Linked DNA regions of Homo sapiens: region 2 is linked to region 1. The links are contacts of gene promoters, found by promoter capture Hi-C in human tissues and cell types (Jung and others, 2019). All regions are on one chromosome and are shown on one strand. Each heading gives the region's core, a stretch centred on a gene start or on the middle of the fragment in contact. The rest is flanking DNA. Distances are from core to core; before and after follow the strand shown. Region 1 holds the start of KATNA1 (katanin catalytic subunit A1). Region 2 overlaps KATNA1 (katanin catalytic subunit A1).

Region 1 (4,753 bases), core at 578-3,077:
GTGGCTAAAAAAACCCAAACTATTGTTAATAGAAATTCAACAATGTTGTTAATAGAGTGAATTCAACAAGATTCTCTAATCCTCAATATTTGTCAGCATCTTGATACCAGTTTCAAAATGAGGTGGAGAATCCCTTGTGGACTACATAGCATGCCTATTACCTATAAAAATGTAAACGCTTCTTGAATAACCAACGCTATAAAGAAGCTTTATATAGCTTTTCATAGTCTAGGAATGTTGGGAAGTTGATCACTACTGCGTGTTTTTTTTTTTAAAGGTATTTACAGGCCACAACTTGTTAATGTTAATACAAAACAAAGTTTTGCTCCTATTTCTTGGTATAAGAACAAAAACCGGCCGGGCGCAGTGGCTCACGTCTGTAATCCCAACACTTTGGGAGGCCTAGGCGGGCGGATCACAATGTCTGGAAATCGAGACCAGCCTGGCCAACATGGTGAAACCCCATCTCTACTAAAATACAAAAAATTTGCCGCGCGTAGTGGAGCGCGCCTGTAGTCACAGCTACTCAAGGAGGCTGAGGCAGGGGAATCGCTTGAACCCGGGAGGCGGAGGTTGCAGTGAGCCAAGATTGCGCCACTGCACTCCAGCCTGGCGACAGAGCAAGACTCCGTCTCAAAAAAAAAAAAAAAAAAAAAAAAAAGAACAAAACCCAGCTCTTTTGGAAAAGAAAATAGGGCTTTATACTGAGACATTTAAGCCCGTAAAAACATTTCAAGAATCTGTCTTAACATCTACTAAGGTGATTATCATTGTGATTACGTGACAAAGATCTACTGCACCCATTCTAAAACATCGGGAATGTTTTCAGCAATAACTAGAGGTCTAATTTCAAAGAGGAAGACGTAAATTAGTGCTTTCAAGAGAAAAGAGCATCACTGTGCTGTTGGAAGTTAGTAACTAATATAAAAGCGGCCCTTCGCGGTTTTAACAGGAAACTATTTTTGATTAAATAAGAGCTTGAGATTATCCACTGTAAGGCACTTCAGGATCTACGTTTATCTCTAACTTTGTCATCACATTTGTATGAAACAACTGTTTCGAGGGAAAACTTTTCTAAAAGGTACCAACTCTAAACCAAAAGGCCCACAGGCCTTCCAGAGGACGCCGGGCTCTAGAATAAATAAGAAATAACATCCCCAACAATATCACTCGAACCTAACAAATTTTAAGAAAAGAAGTTGCCTCCCAATGTCATGGCCATCGGGATTTTTACCTGTGAGGGTTTCGGGGTGGGGGGCGTGAGCGGGTTCTGGAGAGAACCAGTCGAAAAATCGAAGAACTAAAAACTCGGCTGGTGACTTCGCTAACGACACAGATCAAAAGATGGGATCGACAGGAGCCCCCGAAAAGTCCTCCGCCTGACAGGATTCCTCAGGTAGGGGGACTGTCACCTAAGCCAAGTTATCGTGGACAACAGCAAGGACCTAGGACCTCAGCTCAGGCACAGGCAGGCTCACGGAGGGTTGCGCGGCGGGTTCTCGCTGTGGGCCCCCCGAGTCCCTCACCAGCCCGGCCCTGGAAAATCGGGGGTCCCCAGAGCACCGCCAGAGTGAAAACTCACCTGCGGCGGCCCAAGCTCCTCGGGAAACCGCCCAACGCCAGGCACAGGGGATTGGCGGAGTGGAGATCCCGGCAGCGAGGAAGGAGGGCCTGACCCAGTCCAGCCCACTTTGCTCTCCGCTCACGGCCCCAGTACTGCCCAGTTCAATCGTCAACACCACCTGCCGGCGCGGCTCCTGCTCGCCGAGAATTTGAAGACAAACCCGCCAGGGTCACTTCCGGTGCCGGGGACGACCTCGGCGACTCTGGCGCACGCGGGGCGTCGCCCCGGGAGCGAGGTCGCTGGGCGGGAGCGGCGGAAGAGGGTGTGGCCGGGCCCGGGGCCGCGCGTGCGCATTCTTGCACCGCCTCCTCCCGGCGGACGCAGCGGAGACCAGGGATAGTATAGACCTTGGTGTAGATGGTATTATGGTACTACCTCGCGCGCCTCTGTACCTTGTTCAGGTGCTTGCTCACTTTCCCTCCCACTTGATTTTCACCACACTCACACACACACCGAGGTCAGGTGTCTATTTTAGAGGTGAATGTCCAGGATCAAGCAATTCGTTTATGACAAATCCTGTTTTAGAACCTAGTATTCAGAATTCCCCAGCTGGGCTCCATGTCATGACATAACAATAGGGAGGAGGTAAACAAAGATTCTCGGACACACTGCTAGTGGGATTTTATTTTCTTGATTTTTTAATCACCGTTTTAATATGACCAGACAAGGAAAATGATGCTATTTCATGACTTACAGATATGTACTGCACAGGGCTTCCTCCAGTCTCAATCTCCACCCTCTGCCATCACTTGAGGCAGAATAGGGCACTTCTCACACATTCCTTTAAAAACGCAAGGTAATTAAGTTTCTAACATTAAAGCATCCCGACTGGGCACAGTGGCTCATCCCTGTAATCCCAGCACTTTGGGAGGCTGAGGCGGGAGAATAGCTTGAGCCGGGAGTTCAAGACCAGCCTGGGCAATATAGTGAGACCCCCCGTCTCTACAAAAAGTACAAAAATTGGCTGGACATGGTGGCGCACGCCTGTAGTCACAACTACTCAGGAGGCTGACACAAGAGGATCACTTGAGCCCAGGAGTTGGAGGCTGCAGTGGGCCATGATGGCGCCATTGCACTCCAGTCTGGGAGACAAAGTGAGGCCCTATCTCTAAAAAAATAAAAGCACCCCAGTCATCTAACATAGACATGTAGAAGCAATTCAGGGGAAATACATCCATTCAGTCAACAAATGTTTACTCAGCAACTACTATGTGTGAGACAGTGTTGGCACTGGGTATACAGTGGTCACGAAATAGAATGTTTCATGGGGCTTAAAGTCTTGTAACGTCTCAACTGAGTGGAAAATGATAGTTTCACTGTAGTAAATATGAACTCTATTGTAATAGGGAACAGGAAACTATATTTAGTATATATTTTTGGAATCAAAACCAATTCAGGGAGGTACAGATTAATTACCCTAATTCAACCTTCATCCTTTATGTGAGTTCAAAGGTATGCTAATTTATAAAGCCAATTTACAGTTAAAAAACTTCTCAAAGGCCACAAAATTAATACATATTGTATGATTCCATTGATAAGAAATTCTAGGCCAGGCACGGTGGCTCATACCTGTAATCCCAGCACTTTGGGAGGCCGAGACGGGTGGGTCACTTGAGGTCAAGGCGTTTGAGACCAGCCTGGCCAACATGGTGAAACCCCGTCTCTACTAAAAATACAAATATTAGCTGGGTCTGGTGGCGCACACCTGTAATCTCAGCTACTTGGGTGGCTGAGGCACGAGAATCGCTTGAACCCAGGAGGCAGAGGCTGCAGTGAGCCAAGATCGCGCCATTGCACTCCAGCCTGGGTGACAGAGCAAGACTCTGTCTCAAAAAAAAAAAAAAGAAAAAGAAAAGAAATTTTAGAACAGGCAAAACTAATCTATAATAATAGCTGATCAGTGGTTGGCTGCCTGAGGCTGTATTCAGGAGGAGGGGGAGAAGAAATAGATTGCTGAAAGTCCCCAGGAAATATTTAAGGTGATGGAAAGGAAATGTTCTGTTAGGGTAGTGCTTACACAGGTGTAAACATTTATTAAAATTCATCAACAGTACACAAACTGGGCACATTTTATTACGTGTACGTACGCGTATTATATATGAAGATTTTTTGGGTTTTTGTTGTTGTTTTGAGACAGAGTGTAGCTCTGTCGCCCAAGCTGGAGTGTAGTGGTGCGATCTCGGCTCACTGCAACCTCCACCTCCCAGGTTGAAGCCTCACCCTCCCCGAGTAGCTGGGATTACAGGTGCCCGCCACCATGCCCAGCTAATTTTTGTATTTTTAGTAGAGACGGGGTTTCACTGTGTTGGCCAGTCTGGTCACGAACTCCTGACCTCATGATCTGCCCGCCTCAGCCTCCCAAAGTGCTGGGATTACAAGTGTGAGCCACCGCTCCTGGCTGAAGACTTTTTTTAGGTGGAAAGACAAACCTCCAGAGAGTGGCTTACATTCACTACTTCCATTTCTTTACTAGCTGTACTAGTCAGGCAGGAGTGGGTTATGCTGTAGCAACCTCTAAGTCACAGAGGCTTCAACAATAGCATTTTTTTCTTATCTACTTTTTATGTTCATAGCTTGAGTGGATGCAGGCAGTGGGACCCTTGGCAGTGAAAAAAAGAAAGGGAAATAAATTGCACAGCCTCTGCCTGGATGTGAAACTTGCTGCTCTGCCTACATATTTTTGGCCAGAGCAAGTCACTGGTCAAGCCTGACTTCAAAGAAATGCAGGTGTTCATCTCTGCATTGTGCCTTGAAGAAGCAGAATATTTGTGTACCACTCTCATGACTAGGAGTCATTTCTTCTTTTACAGTGTGGCTTCTACAACCACCACCCTTCTAAAATGATTGTATCCAAACTGTGACTCAGAAAATCTGAGATTATATTTTCCTGGTGAATGGTCAGGTTAATTTGGCAGAATCACAGGACACACAAAAACAAGTTAGGGGAAAAGAGGTAGAAAGATAGGTGCCAGCTAAAGAGTTAAACTTTATTCAGTAGACAAAAGGGGACCCATTGAAAGGTGTCAAATGAAGACATAAGTTATATAGCAAATAGGAGGATTAATTTGACAGCTAAACGTAGGAAGTTTTGGAGGGGAGAGAGAATAGATTGGGGGACTGTTGCAAGAG
Region 2 (4,753 bases), core at 1,221-3,720, 51 kb before region 1:
TCAAACCTTCAATGCGCCTTCTCATTGCCATCAAGGACGCATCCCTAGGTTTTAAGTTAAAAACAACAACAACACACACAATGTTACTTTGGTTAAATGAAAACCTGTTAATAGAAAAATTTTCAATTGATCTGTTGTAGCATTCTCTAATTATATTACATATATATGTAGTATTGTATAGAAACTTATTGGAATACAAAGCCTGTTGTGATTGATTTTTAAGCAGTTAAATCTTCTGTAATGAAAAAGGATGCTAATTTAAATAATTAATACTGAATATAAAATCCCAGAAAAAGTAAAAGTGGGGTTAAAGCTAGCAATTTGAATTTCATTATAACTATTCAATAAAATGAAGAATAAGCATCACAGAGTCAGAAGAGAAGAGAAACTGTTAACAAGAAAATTAAATATTTTCTCCATGTAGAGGAAAAGCTAGGTAAGTTCAGGGTTTCTCCTTTTCTCATTTGTGTTAAAAAAAAAAAACAAAACTTCAGATTCAAACAGCTCTTGCCTTTTACCAAGTTTTATCCTTAATAGCAGCCACCATTTATGCAAAGGGATAGCAATAGAGCTGTTTGATGTATACACTTTAGCTTTAATCCTCAGAACCCTGTGTGGTATGCTCACTTTAGAAAGGAGGAAACGAGCGCAGTCAAGCCCCTGGTTAATTAAGTGTCTCTACTAATACTTAGATTAGGACAAAACCTACTTGAACCAGCTGGATTAAAGACATTCTTTTTTTCTTTTTACTGCTATTCTGTCACATTTAGGATAAGTTCACTGAGAATGAGACTGTATTCTGTGCATATGCCAAGTCAATATATTTCACAGTCATTTCGTATTTTATAATATAGTGAACAAAGGCACCAACAATTTATTTAATCCAAGACAATTACTGATTTTCTATTTTACACAATTTATCCTAACATTAGCTTCTTGAACTTGTAGCTTTCAAATGAACTGTAGACTCTTCACTGACATGAAAGATACCAGATATCTTACCAGCACCTGCTAACACCAACAAAACCAGAATTTGTGACCCTGACTACAAAATGTATGTGGGGCCGGGCATGGTGGCTCACGCCTGTAATCTTAGCATTTTGGGAGGCTGAGGCAGGCGGATCACTTGAGGTCAGGAGTTCGACACCAGCCTGGTCAACATGGTGAAACACCGTCTCTACTAAAAATACAAAAATTAGCCAGGTGTGGTGGTGCATGCCTGTAATCCCAGCTACTCGGGAGGCTGAGGCACAAGAATCACTTGAACCCAGGAGGCAAAGGTTGCAGTGAGCCGAGATCGGACCACTGCACTTCAGCCTGGGTGACAGAGCGAGACTCCGTCTCAAAAAACAAAACAAAACTGGAATGTGGGTCTTTATTCATCTTTTTTTTTTTTCTTTGGACACAGGGTCTTGCTTTGTCGCCCAGGCTGGGGTGCAGTGGCACAATCATGGCTCACTGCAGCCTCAAACTCCTGGGCTCAAGCGATCCTCCTGCCTCAGCTTCCTGAGCAGGTGGGAACCACCATGCCCGGCTAATTTTTAAAATTTTTTTCATGGATATGAGGTCTTGCAATGTTACCCAGGCCAGTCAAACTCCTGGGCTCAAGTGATCTCCCACTTGGCCTCCCAAAGTGCTGAGATTACAGGCGTGAGCCACCACCAAGATATTGATCTGTCTTAATTCAGCATAAAAACTTCACGTCAGAGGATCACTTGAGCCCAGGAGTTTCAGGCTGCAGTAAGCTGTGACTGCGCCTCTACTCTCCAGTCTAGGCAACAGAGCGAGACTGTGTCTCAAAAAACAAAACCAAAAAACTTCATACTAGAAGTTTATGCTTACAAAAACCTATGCTTCCATGATAATTCATACCTGCACACGTTGGTAATGTCCGCACCTGAATAACCTTCCATGTTTTCTGCTATACTTGCAAGGTCAACATCATCAGCCAATTCCAACTCACGTAGACTTATTCGTAATAGCTCCTCCCTGCCTTTTGCTAATGGTAGAAACAAATTTTAAAATGTAAGCCTGCAGCATAAACATAGTATACTATTGTCTCAAATCTTCTTTGTGTGAGATGTTGTCTTCCAGTAAGAATTGGATCTCTAAGAAGAGATAATTAAGTAAAGAGCCATTCTTTACTTTTTAATTCCTTACTATTTAGTATTAAGGCATATAGCCAAACTAGTACTGTAAAGGAAGATACTCCTCATGTATCTCTTCCAGAAAGTTAGTTAATAACAAATTTTAAATTCTCTAAACAAAACTACATGAAAGTTAACAGGCTTTCTGACAAGATTGAAAGGAAGATACCTGACGGCAAAGGAATATAGATTCGTTTCTCAAGGCGTCGTCTTAAAGCCTCATCTATATCCCAGGGAAAATTAGTAGCTGCCAGAACCATAACCATTTTGGAAGGGTCATCATTTTCAGAAGTACCTCCAACACCTAAAATAAGGGTAAGGGGAGAGTGAAAAAGATATTAAGTTGGATTATACCAAATGAAGCTCAGCTATTTAAAGATCAACAACTATTTAGTACAACAATACAAGGAAGCACAGTCTTAATGCCTCCTTAAGACTTAGGTTAACTGGTACCTATGTGAATTTGTAATCCAAAGAAAATGAGTTCTGTAGTATGCAAATATATGACTCAAAATAGATTTAATCGAAAAGCCAGATCTCAAATACATAACAATTTTAAATCTTTTTCAAAGCGTACATAAACTCTAAGGCCAATTTATCTGCATTTATTTTTATTTCAATTTCATAGCTAAAGTAAGATAGTTGTATATACCAAAAGGGTGCCCTGTGTGTGGCCATTAATTCTGACTTGTCACCACTGTCAGTGTACCAAATCTATTACTATCACTATCAGGAACTTCTTGCCACCCCCTCTAGTCCATCTGAAGTTAAGAATACCTATTAAAAGCTTGGGTTAGCACTATGAGTAAAGTTTGACCCACTGGAACTGGAGACACCACACCTAACAACCTCCCGTCCCTGTTCAACTCAAGCTAAACACAGATACCATCCATCTGAACCAGCAGCTCCGCTTTCACCCTTCTGCTTGCTTCATGTTCTTCAGAAGTCCCTCGGCGACTACAGATGGAGTCTATCTCATCAATAAATATGGTGGCTGGAGAATAAAATCGAGCCTAAAGGAAGAAACCATGCAATATCAAGCTATTAAGCTATTATTTCATTTTAAAATAATCTACAGATTAGCAATCAGAAAATAGCTGAGGGAGGCTGGGCACAGTGGCTCACACCTGTAATCCCAACACTGGGAGGGTGAGGCAGGAGGATGGATTGAGCCCAAGAGTTCGAGACCAGCCTGGGCAACATAGCAAGACTCCATCTCTACAGAAAATTAAAATATTAGTTGAGTGTGGTTACACGTGTCTGAGTCCCAGCTACTCAGGAGGCTAGGTGAGAGGATCCCTTGAGCCCAGGAGTTCAAGGCTGCAGTGAGCTATGATCACACCACACCACTGTATTCCAGACTGGGTGACAGAGTGAGAACCTGTCTCTAAAACAAGAGGAAAGAAAGAAAACAACAAAACAGCTAAGGAGCCTGCCACACTGTGCATCTTTCTCTCACGCTAATACTGGGGAGATGGGATAGAATTAGAACAGCTAAAATATGGCTTCTAATGAACCGTTTTTTATTTATTTATTTTTTTTTAAGAGGCAAGGTCTTGCTCTGTCATCCAGGCTGGAGTGCAGTGATATGATTTTGGCTCACTTCAACCTTGAGCTCCTGGGCTCAAGCAATCCTCTCACCTCAACCTCCCGAGTAGCTAGGACTACAGGTGTGTGCCACCACACCAGGCTTATTTTTATATTTTTGGTAGAGATGGTGTCTTATTATGTTGCCTAGGCTGGTCTCAAACTCCTAGACTCAAGCAATCTTCCTGCCTCGGCCTCCCAAAATGCTAGGATTACAATGAGCCACTGTACCTAGTGGGATAATTTCATCTTTAAAGAGAGTCAATACTTGGGTCTTTATGTATAAATATTTTTGTACTTTTTCAACAAATGGAGAGAGGGAAAGAGTGAACTTCATCATCATTAAAACATCCAAGAAAATTCTCAACTAAAATTTTAGGAAGCATCTATCAAAAGCACCTACATCAACAAAAATTAAACTTCAGTCTGTTGCCACACCAAGCAAAAGTGACTAGACTGATTCTTCCCACATACTGAGGTTATGTAGAATGATCTGACTTCAAGGAAAGGCTATGTGTCCTGGGTTTAGCTGGCCCAGGAAGGTACGGTAGAGGACACCAATTGGTTCTCCCTGCACAGCACACTTCTGGTAAGAGAAGCCTCTTTTTCATTTGCAAATCATCCCTTTCTTTCTTTCCTCCCCTCTCCCCTCTCCCCTCTCCCTCTCTCTGTAACCTCTGCCACCCCGGTTCAAGCAATTCTCCTGCCTCAGCCTCCCAAGTAGCTGGGATTACAGGTGCACGCCACCACACCTGGCTAATTTTTGTATTTTTAGTAGAGACGGGGTTTCATCATGTTGGCCAGGCTGGTCTCGAACTCCTGACCTCAAGTGATCTGCCCGCCTCAACCTCCCAAAGTGCGGGGATTACAGGCATGAGCCACCATGCCGGGCCCCTCTCATTCCTATTCCACTACTTCAAAAGAGGCTAACTTTACTTGGAACTCCAGGGGTTTTATTCAGACCTGGCCAATCAGAGCACTCCAATTCTCTGACCAAAAACAAGGAGTTTCGGCATAGG

The links. The method cuts DNA at HindIII sites, captures the fragments that hold promoters and counts their contacts. A contact is called where the count stands out against the background at its distance.
Region 2: a contact is called between a fragment that was not itself captured here and the fragment with the promoter of KATNA1 in region 1, in 1 of the 25 tissues and cell types used here (liver).

The regions. Positions count from the first base shown.
Region 1 is chr6:149,646,887-149,651,639 of GRCh38, forward strand. It overlaps KATNA1 (katanin catalytic subunit A1), which reads right to left and starts at 1,828. Exons shown (of 11, transcript NM_007044.4): 1 at 1,583-1,828. RefSeq lists an enhancer at 1,628-1,707 and a silencer at 1,778-2,047. The HindIII fragment of the contact is 16,640 bases long and covers 1-4,753 here.
Region 2 is chr6:149,595,191-149,599,943 of GRCh38, forward strand. It overlaps KATNA1 (katanin catalytic subunit A1), which reads right to left. Exons shown (of 11, transcript NM_007044.4): 8 at 3,034-3,160; 9 at 2,317-2,451; 10 at 1,873-1,999; 11 at 1-44. Among named protein-coding and RNA genes, the nearest start is that of GINM1, 31 kb to the left of the region's middle. The HindIII fragment of the contact is 3,845 bases long and covers 549-4,393 here.